Regions from separate parts of the Homo sapiens genome. Here all the other regions are linked to region 2. The links are contacts of gene promoters, found by promoter capture Hi-C in blood cells and fetal thymus (Javierre and others, 2016). All regions are on one chromosome and are shown on one strand. The core of a region is centred on a gene start or on the middle of the fragment in contact, and the rest is flanking DNA. Distances in the headings are between cores, read along the strand shown. Region 1 overlaps STPG1 (sperm tail PG-rich repeat containing 1). Region 2 holds the start of IFNLR1 (interferon lambda receptor 1). Region 3 overlaps STPG1 (sperm tail PG-rich repeat containing 1).

Region 1 (3,100 bases), core at 494-2,993, 210 kb after region 2:
GTTGGAGTGCAGTGGTGCAGTCATAGTTCATTGCAGCCTTGACCTCCTGGGCTTAAGCAATCCTCCTGCCTCAGCCTCCCAAAGTTCTGGGATTGCAAGTGTGAGCCACCATGCCTGGCTAGATAGTAAATATTTTAGTCTTTGCAGTCTATTTATTCTCTGTGGCAACTATTCAGTGCTGCCATTATGGAGTAAAAGCAGCCACAGACAATACATAAACAAACTGGGGTGGCCGTGTTCCAATAAAACTTTATTAATAGAAATAGGCAGTGGGTCAGATTTGGTCCAAGGAGCAAAGTTTGCCAACTGTTGCTTTAAGGTAACCACTAGGAAAATACTACAAGGAGTTATTCCTAATAGGCTAACAAAGGAGATAAAATTGAAGCATTAAAAATAATACAAGAGACAGAGAAAAGGTAAATAAAGAACAGATGGGACGAATAGAAAGCAAGTCACAAGATGATAGACTTAAACTTATACACCAATAATCACATTAAATGTAAATAATCTAAATATCCCAATTAAAAAACAGAGATTCTCAGATTGGATAAGAAAGAAAGACCCAACTATATGTTACCTTGGAGAAACATACTTGAAATATAAACTCAGAAATAAGTTAAAAGTAAAATAATGGAAAAAGATTTACTATGCTAACACTAATCAAAAGATAGTTAGATATTATCAGATAAAGTAGATTTCAGAGCAAAAAATATTACCTGCAATAAAGAGGGTCATTTCATAATGGGGTCATTATGAGCAGTCAGCTCCTCAAGAGAACATAACAGTCCTAAATGCTGATGTACCCAATAAAAAGAGATTGAAAATATAAGAAGCAGAAACTGATAAAACTGCGAGAAAAAATAGAAAATTTCACAATTATAGTCAGAGATCTCAAAACATCTCCCTCGATAATTTAAACAAGTAGATAGATCAGTAAAGATATATGAAACCTGAACAAAACTATTACCTAACCTGACCTAATTGGCATTTATAGAACACTCCACCTATCAATTCCATACAAGCTGTCCCAGAAAACTGAAGAGGAAAAGACATTTCCAAACTCATTCAATGAGGCAACCACTACCTGATACCAAAACTATATGGCATCATTACAAGAGGGAAAAAGATCACTAGAGGTCAGCAGCCCTCATAAACATAAATACATAAATCCTTAGAAAAATTTTAGCGAATCAAACCAGACAATATATAAAAAGATAATACATCGTGACCAACCCCAGTAATGCAAAAATAGTTTAATATTTAAAAATCAATATAATTCATCATATTAACGGACTAAAAAAGAAAAACCATACGAGTATCTCAACAGATTAAAAAAATCATATACCTGTAACATGTACTCTTTTTGTCTGGCTTCTTTCACTCAGCATAATTACTATGAGATTCATCTCTGTTGCTGATATATCAATACTCCATTGCTTTTTATTGTTGAGTAATATTCCATTGTATAAAAACATGATGTTTATTCACTGGTGATGTAAATTTGAGTTGTCGCCAGTTTGGGGGCATTACAAATAAAACTGCTATGAGCATTTTATCTACAAGTCTTTAAATGGACATAAGCTTTCATTTTGCGGGGTAAATGCCTAGGAGTGGAATGACTAGATCATATGTTTAACTTTTTAAAAAACTGTCAAACTATTTTTCATAGTCGTTGTACTTTTGCACATCCCCACTATTAGCGTATGAAAATTTCTATGACTTCACATTCTTATCAGCAATGGGAAGTCTTTTTAATCTCAGGCATCCCATTAGGTATGTAATGGTATCTCATTATGGTTTTAATTTGCATTTCCCTAATGACTAATGATGCTAAGCAGTCCTTCATATGCTATTTTCCCTCTGTATATCTTTTTTTTGGTGAAGTAACTGTTTAGTAGATACAGAAAAAGCTTTTCATAAGATCTAATATCCTTTGATGATTAAAAGAAAAACTCTAGCAAACTAGGAATAGGAGCAAACTTTGTTAATCTGATAAAAGGTGTCTATAACAAAAGCCTATAGCAAACAGGATACCAAATTGTGAAATATTAAAGGCTTTCCCTTGAGACAGGGAGTGAAACTAGTACAACTGCTATTATCCTTCTATTCAACGTTGTACTGAAGGTCTCTAGCCAATACAAACGCCTACATAAAATATATTAAAAATACATAAAATATATGGATGAGAAAGGAAGAAATAAAGTTGTCATTTTCACAGATTACAAGATTGTGTATGGGGAAATTGCAAAATAATCTGTGGACACCCTATAAGAGGTAATAGTTGGATTTAGTGAGGTCACCAGAATCAAGGTCAATATACAAAAATCAATTAATTTTTTTGTACAGCAGCAACAAACAATTTAAAATAAAATTTAAAATTACCATTTATAACAGCATAAAAATCAAATGCCTACAATAGATATAATGAAGATATGCAAGACTTCTACATAGAAAACTCCAAAACATTGAGAACAATTTAAGGTAACTTAAATAAAAGGATCTATACATGGATTAGAGAAGTTAATATTTATTGTAAAGATGTAAATTATCCTTAAATTGATTTCTAGAATCAATGCAATCCAAATTAAAATGAGAGTAGAGTTTTTTTAAGACATTAATAAGCTGATTGTAAAATTTGTATAGCTACCCAGATTTGATCATCGCACATTATATTCTTGTATCAAAATATCATGTGTGCACCATAAATATGTACAACTATTATGTATCCATAAAAATTAAAAATAAAAAAGTAAAATAAATTTATATGGAAATGCACTGGGGTCAAGAATAGCCAGCATAAACAAAGAAGTACAAAGTTGAAGGGCTTATGCTACTAAAGAGTTATTATAAAGTTACAGTAATTAGGACAGTATGATATTTGAACAGAATAAATAATCAAGAAGCAGAGCTGCATATGCCTGGACACTTGATTTATGACAAAGGTAGCAACAGCAATACAGAGTAGTAGAGAATGAGCAGCCTTTCAATAAATGGTGCTGGGTCAACATGGAAAACAACAGACTCGGGCATCTTCCTCAATCAAAAACAATTTCAAGTGAATTGTAGATCTAGATGTAAAAGGTAAAATAATAGAGTTTCT
Region 2 (3,263 bases), core at 227-2,726:
TGCCAGGCACTAGTTTGGCTCTTTACATGTAAAACCTCAATCACCCTTGGGACAGACCACCCTATGGGGTAGGTGTCATTCATTCTGCTTCCATGGAAAGGGCGCTAGGCTCAGAGACAGATGCTAACTAACTTGCCTGAGGCTACACAGTCAGTTTGTGTGGGAGCCAGTATTTGAACTTAGATCTGGCTGTACTTACTCCTAAATCATCACACCATAGTTAGTGTTGTGTATATTAAATACTTATCAGGTGAAAGTACAAGAAGGTCTGGGTTTGACAGTGAAAGGGGAACAGAAGACCCCACCCTCCCTCCACACACAGGTACACGGTCCCTCATCAGCCACAGAGAACGCTGCTGTGGGCACTGGGGGCTGGAGCATCCCTGGCTGGCCTAGTGACCCAGTGGATGGACAGCCTGTCCCACGTGCCTACCCTGGAGGCAAAAGCTAGCCAGGCTTGCTTTAGCCCCTCTTCTCTCTTCTGTGTGCCTCACCTCTGCCATCCTTCTTGAGGAATTCCCTGAATTGCTCTGAGCCTCAGTTTTCCCATCGGAAAAGTAAAAATAATATCTACCTCCGAGGATGGCTGGGTCGTGAGGCTTCCAGAATAATGCGGTGCCTGGCACAAAGAAGTTGCTGAATAAATATAGGCTTTTATGATGATTGGATTATGCCCAGGGACCTTTACAGCTCTTTAAACTGTGAGTCCAAGACTAGGAAAATATCCTGGGGGCGATTTCTGGACCTTCTCTTCCCTGCTTCGGTTGGAGTCGTGGGCGGTGAGGTTTGGTGGTTGGGTCCTACGGCGAGGAATTTTGTACCTGACACCTTACTCATCAGTAGAGGTGGGAAAACAACAACAACAACAACAACAACAAAACAACAACAAAACAACAACCACCACCAAAAGAAAGCCGTCTTGTTAGAAAGCAGGGCACAGGCGACCAGAGCTCCGTCCCACCAGAGGCCTGGCAGGAACGGGAAGGGACATCAATCGGTCCCACTTTCCCTGCTGTCCACACTTTAGGGTCAAGTGTGGTTTTCACGCAGGGATCAGTGCTTTCTTTAGGAAACATTAAAAAGCACTTTATTAAAAAATATGCAGTATCAAACTGCCGCTGTCTTTTTTCTCCAGTTCTCCTGAAGCTGGAAGCATTAGGAAACTGGATTCGTTTCCTGCGGGAGAGGAATATCAAAGACCCGGTTCTGTTCAGTCCTGGGAAGAAGCAAACTGGGGGCGCGTAGGCAGGGCCGATTCGCACCCGGCTCGGGTGGCTGCGGACCCCGTGCCTGTCCCAGGAGCTCCGGGTCCGAGGGTAGGCGCGGCCCGGCCCGGGGAGCCCTCTTCCCCCTCCCTCCCGCGGCCCCGCGCCCTTACCTGGAGCGGCCTGCAGCAGGCACAGGAGCAGGGGGCCCCAGCGCTCGGGCCCCGCCATGGCCTTCCTGCCGCGGCGTCCCCGCCCGGGCCCAGGTCCCCGCCTCCCGCCTCCCGCCTCCCGTCTCCTAGCCCACCGCGGGCAGGTGACGCAGTCGGCAGCCAATGGCCCGCAGAGCCGCGGGCCCGTCCCTGCCGCCTAGGATTCACTGAGAAGGTCCCTGGGGACAGCCCCGCCGCGGGGGGAGGGGGGGGGGGGAGCGCGCCGGTCCCCGCGCTCGAAACTCGCCCGTACCTCTGCTTCATCTGCACTTAGTTTTGTTTTACTCAATTCCCGGAAAAAAAAATCAGTAAATCCGTGCACGGGGGAAGGGCAGGGGAGGGGAAGAAACCGGCTGATGATCAATAACCCACGGCCAGTCCAGTGCTCCAGGACGGGCCATTTTGGCAGGATTAGGGAGAGTTCAAGGCCGGTTTGGCTACGCGGCCTCAATGCCATTGGCGGGATCCGAGCGCGTTTCTGAGCCGGATGCTGAGCTCCGCGCCTTACACACGCGATTCCCTTTAATGCCCCCGGGGATCCCGGCGGATCCGTGCTGCCCTTCTCCACGTACTTCTCTCCCGGGGAGCGGCAGGCCCCAGAGCTTCAGGTGCTTGTTCTGGGGAAAGCTGTCTTTCTGACCCCGAAGGCTGTGGTGTTCACCTGGACAGCAGTAGCTTCCCAGTAAGGCACACGCCACGACGCGCAATATTATGCGGCCCTTTAGGAGGACGTTGCCGAATGGTGTGTATCGACACCGAGGTGTTTGCAACACACTGAGAAACAGAAAAGCGAGTGCTAAAACATAGGCCCATTAAAAAAGTGTGTGTGTAGCCGGGCGCGGTGGCTCACGCCTGTAATCCCAGCACTTTGGGAGGGTGAGGCGGGTGGATCGCCTGAGGTCAGGAGTTGGAGACAAGCCTGGCCAACATGGTGAAACCCCGTCTCTACTAAAAATACAGAAAATCAGCCGGGCGTGGTGGCATTCACCTGTAATCCCAGCTATCAGGGAGGCTGAGGCAGGAGAATCGCTTGAACCCAGGAGGCGGAGGTTGCAGTGAGCCGAGATCGCGCCACTGCACTCCAGCCTGGGCGACAGAGTGAAACTCAGTTTCAAAAAAAAAAAAAAAAGTGTGTGTGTGTGTGTGTGTGTGTGTGTGTGAGTCTGTCTGTATGCATAGAAAGATATTTGGAATAATAATTACCAAAATATTAATGGTTGTTGTCTTTGGGTGATGAGGATTTTCTTTTTCAACTTTCTTCTTTTCTGATCATATTTCGTTTCCAATTTTTTGATAATTATTTGAAACTGGGATCAGCTTTGGTCCCATCAGTTTTTGGAAGAGAAAATGATTTTCACAGAGCTTGGTGGGTCCAAAAGTTGCTCTGAGTTTAACCGCGGGGGAAATTTCTTTTGGAAATTTCAGGATGCTTCTGGGACTAGCATCAAGGCTTCTGCTTAATCAGGATTTTTTTTCTTTTTTTTTTTTTAGACAAAAGCTCTGTCGCCCAGGCTGGAATGCAATAGTGTGATCTTGGCTCACTGCAACCCCGCCTCCTGGGTTCAAGCTATTTTCTCACTTCAGCCTCCCAAGTAGTTGGGATTACAGGCACCTGCCATCATGCTCAGCTAATTTTTGTAGAGATGGGGTTTCACCATGTTGGGCAGGCTGGTCTTGAACTCCTGACCTCAGGTGACCTCAGCCTCCCAAAGTGCTGGGATTACAGGCATGAGCCACTGTGCCTGGCCTTAATTAGGATCTCTTAACAAAGCCCTGCTCACAGAGGACGCAATTCCACCTCAAAGGCGCAGGGTGGAGGAGGATGGAAGAGCAGCAGGCACGGTCA
Region 3 (3,108 bases), core at 168-2,667, 190 kb after region 2:
AAGACAGCCCTACCAATCTCCATGTATTGTGTGGTCCTTGTGTGACTGGTGCTGTCCTGGGCATGAAGCATACATTATCTCATTTAATATTTGCATTAACACGATGAGGTGAACATACATCACCATTTTACAGATCAGTAAACTAAGCCCTGGAAAGGTTAAGGGACTTGCCGAAGGCCGCACAGTTAGAAAGTGGCAACAGATGAGAGCTAAACCAAACCTTCCTGAGTCCATCTCTTAACCATCCATGCCATTCTGCGTCAGTGAATACAAAGCGATCATAATTGGCACAGCAGGGCACGACTGTTAAAACACCTATTTTCTGATATGAAAGTTTATTTTCCCTAGAAGAACCTAAAAAGTAAATCATTAGTGGCTGCAGACAAAGTGGTAAATAATACACCCATTGTTACAGATGAGAAAACTACGTCCCAGAAAGGTTACAGGACAAGAGTAATTAGAATATGTGTTTCTCAGGGCAGTGGCCTCCCCACAGCTTGATACTGGCCTCCATGTTGCCCATCCTGATCTCTGGGGTCTGCAAATTCCCTGTAAGAGTCTTGTACAGCCTTAGGCACCCATTGGGTAGTCAACAAATGCTAACTGGCTTGACAACTGCATTAAAATACGATGTCCCCAAGATCCCCTCTTCCTTTTATTTTAGTAAACCATTAATTCGATCTGTATTTAGCAAGCATAGGCAGAGTTCTTACATTGTAATAGTTTGGTGCAGGAGTTTCAAACTTGAGAGCTTTCATAAAGCTTGGCAACTGGAACATGCTGGAACACGAATTACTAAAGTCTCTCTTGGAAATAAAATCCGATGGGATAGTGTATGCATTCGCTGCAGGGTATTTAGAAATGATGGTGTCCAATCGGGCGCACTGTAAGGAGACAACCAAAGGAATCAGCATTGTCACATAATATTGTGGATCTGAAGGACAGATGTCAAAAAGATGGTGACCAGCACAAGGTCTAAATGCATTTTATAAAAGGCGAAACTCTGGCAGTAACAATGATAAACTGACCTCAGGCTTTGAGGATCTTCCCTTGGAAAACGCAAGTTCAGACCTGTACTCGCTTCTGTAAACTAACTCAAATTATTCATCTTCTGTTTGGGACTTGGCAAAAATGATTTTGCCATAAATGCATTTCCACCCAATCCTGTTCCAGGCCACTTACCCTTGACTCATCAGCTGTTGGGTAATTTATGTGATAGGAAGCTTTAGATGCTCTTCTCAGCCTAGGCTTTTCTTCTGAGTAAAATCTCACATCTTGTTTCTAAGGTTAAATGATCTGAACTGCCTAAGCAACGAGTTTGCTTCAAACAAAGCTCCAGGGGGCTTGTTGTCCATCTGTGCCTCCTACCCTCCACCAAATTACTGTTTTCATCAAATCCTACAGTATTTTCACGGTTTAACAGAACCAATCCCACCCTTTCAGGAAGCCACGATAAATTATCTTCAGTTAAAAAACAAACAGAATCAATGTTTGTCAAAAGAACAGGGACAAAAGTCACAGAAACTCAGTGATAACATCACTTTCCCCTAAGATAGCATGGCAAGTATTGGAGTCTGATAAAACAAAAAATTTCCCACTATTTAATGGTCAAAAGCTTGAGAACATTGCCCTGGATTTTCTCACTTGATAGGAATCAATAACTACACAAACACAGAAAGTGGGTGAGCCAAAAGGAAGGCATTAGGGCCCCCCTACTTCACTCTGTGCTTGGTGGTGACGGTCCTCAGCGTCTGGTTTATGGACCCCCACTAGCATTTGGGGGGGTGTAGCACCAGAAGCGGGAGTGTTCTTGTCCAGAGCCTAAGTTGTTCAGAGCCTAACCTGGGTTCAAGCCCCAGCTCAACCCCAGCCTCTTCAGTAATGGGAAGTTAACTCCAACGCTGATCTGTTCCTTGAGTATCCAACTCTGCCAAACTCGAATTCTAATAAGAAGTGGCTACATGCAGTGTGTAAGGATTTGCTGATGCTCCTAGAAGTAAGGTCACCCCAGCTTTGAACGTGCTTCATCTTTTTCATTCTGGCCAAGAGTTAACCAATACCTTTGGTGGGTTTTTGTGTTGAATCCTCAGGACAACCCTGAGCAGTGGATCTTATGATTATCTCTACTTTACAGATGAGGAAGCTGAACTTCCCCAGCTAATTCAGGCGGAGGACCAGCATTCCTACCCAAGCAGTCAGCCTCCACTACATGACATGGATCAGAGAGCCCATTCTAAAGGGGAAAGGGTTGAGCGACATGGCTCTGGGATAACAGCAAGCCCATTCAATCATAGACTCTTTTTTGGTTTAGAACACCTACAACTTACATTTTGAAAATGAAAAAACTTCTTCCCAAAAAAGTCCCAGTAGAGGCAATGTTTTATAAAGTATCGTAATAGAATTAGTCTCAGAATGTGGCTACAGTAACACTCACTCACCAACACTACACACCCCTTGGTTTACTTGCCAGGCCTGTGGCCTCCAATCTGGCCAAATGCCGGCATTTATGAACTTCTCTCCAGCACCTACTAACTTTTCTAGAGCCACTCCTGCCAGCATGCAAATACAGAGAGGCCATCAAACTCTCCACCCACCTGCCTCATACACTTCTCCTAGTCAGTCCTGTGGAAGATTCTGGAGCAAAGATTTGGAATATACTAATAAAGCTCTTTATATCATTCAGACTTAGAGAGATGACAGGTCTCTCAAAAGGTTGGGTGTAGTTGTTTCAACAGTCATGAGGAAGTTTCTAAAATTTATAGACCCACAGAGTTTTTTGGTCAGCCTCACCCATAATCACATTCCTACTGGTCATTCTGATCTTTCTCTGATGAGAGCTACTTTTAATTCCCTCTAAGTCTTGGGATGCAGAAGCGGAGGAGGTGCTAAAGGTGAAAGTTACTGAAAGAGGCGGTGGGGTGGGGGATATGAAATTCTCATCCAGTTCACACGGGAATGAGGTAAAACGCAGAGATCTCCTAATAGATCGCCATCGACCACTTCAGGCACCCATCCCCAGGTACAGGACCTTAAGTGCTTATACCTGAGTGTAACATAACTATAAATACAAATTCCCATATTTGTGAAAGGGAGGAGAGGGGGAAGCCT

Evidence for each region. Contacts are between HindIII fragments. The CHiCAGO score rates a contact against its expected background, and 5 or more counts as called.
Region 1: a fragment that was not itself captured here is called in contact with the fragment with the promoter of IFNLR1 in region 2 in 12 of 17 cell types (megakaryocytes, total B cells, monocytes and 9 more); the score reaches 9.3 in megakaryocytes.
Region 3: a contact is called between a fragment that was not itself captured here and the fragment with the promoter of IFNLR1 in region 2, in 3 of 17 cell types (megakaryocytes, monocytes and M2 macrophages). The highest score is 5.6, in megakaryocytes.

Annotation. Positions count from the first base shown.
Region 1 is chr1:24,396,355-24,399,454 of GRCh38, forward strand. The region is part of intron 2 of STPG1 (sperm tail PG-rich repeat containing 1); the gene reads right to left. Among named protein-coding and RNA genes, the nearest start is that of STPG1, 16 kb to the right of the region's middle. The HindIII fragment of the contact is 329 bases long and covers 1,580-1,908 here.
Region 2 is chr1:24,185,813-24,189,075 of GRCh38, forward strand. It overlaps IFNLR1 (interferon lambda receptor 1), which reads right to left and starts at 1,477. Exons shown (of 7, transcript NM_170743.4): 1 at 1,379-1,477. The coding sequence starts at 1,436. RefSeq lists a silencer at 1,250-1,739. The HindIII fragment of the contact is 11,665 bases long and covers 1-3,263 here.
Region 3 is chr1:24,378,940-24,382,047 of GRCh38, forward strand. STPG1 (sperm tail PG-rich repeat containing 1) reads right to left here. Exons shown (of 9, transcript NM_001199013.2): 5 at 714-884. Among named protein-coding and RNA genes, the nearest start is that of STPG1, 33 kb to the right of the region's middle. The HindIII fragment of the contact is 392 bases long and covers 1,222-1,613 here.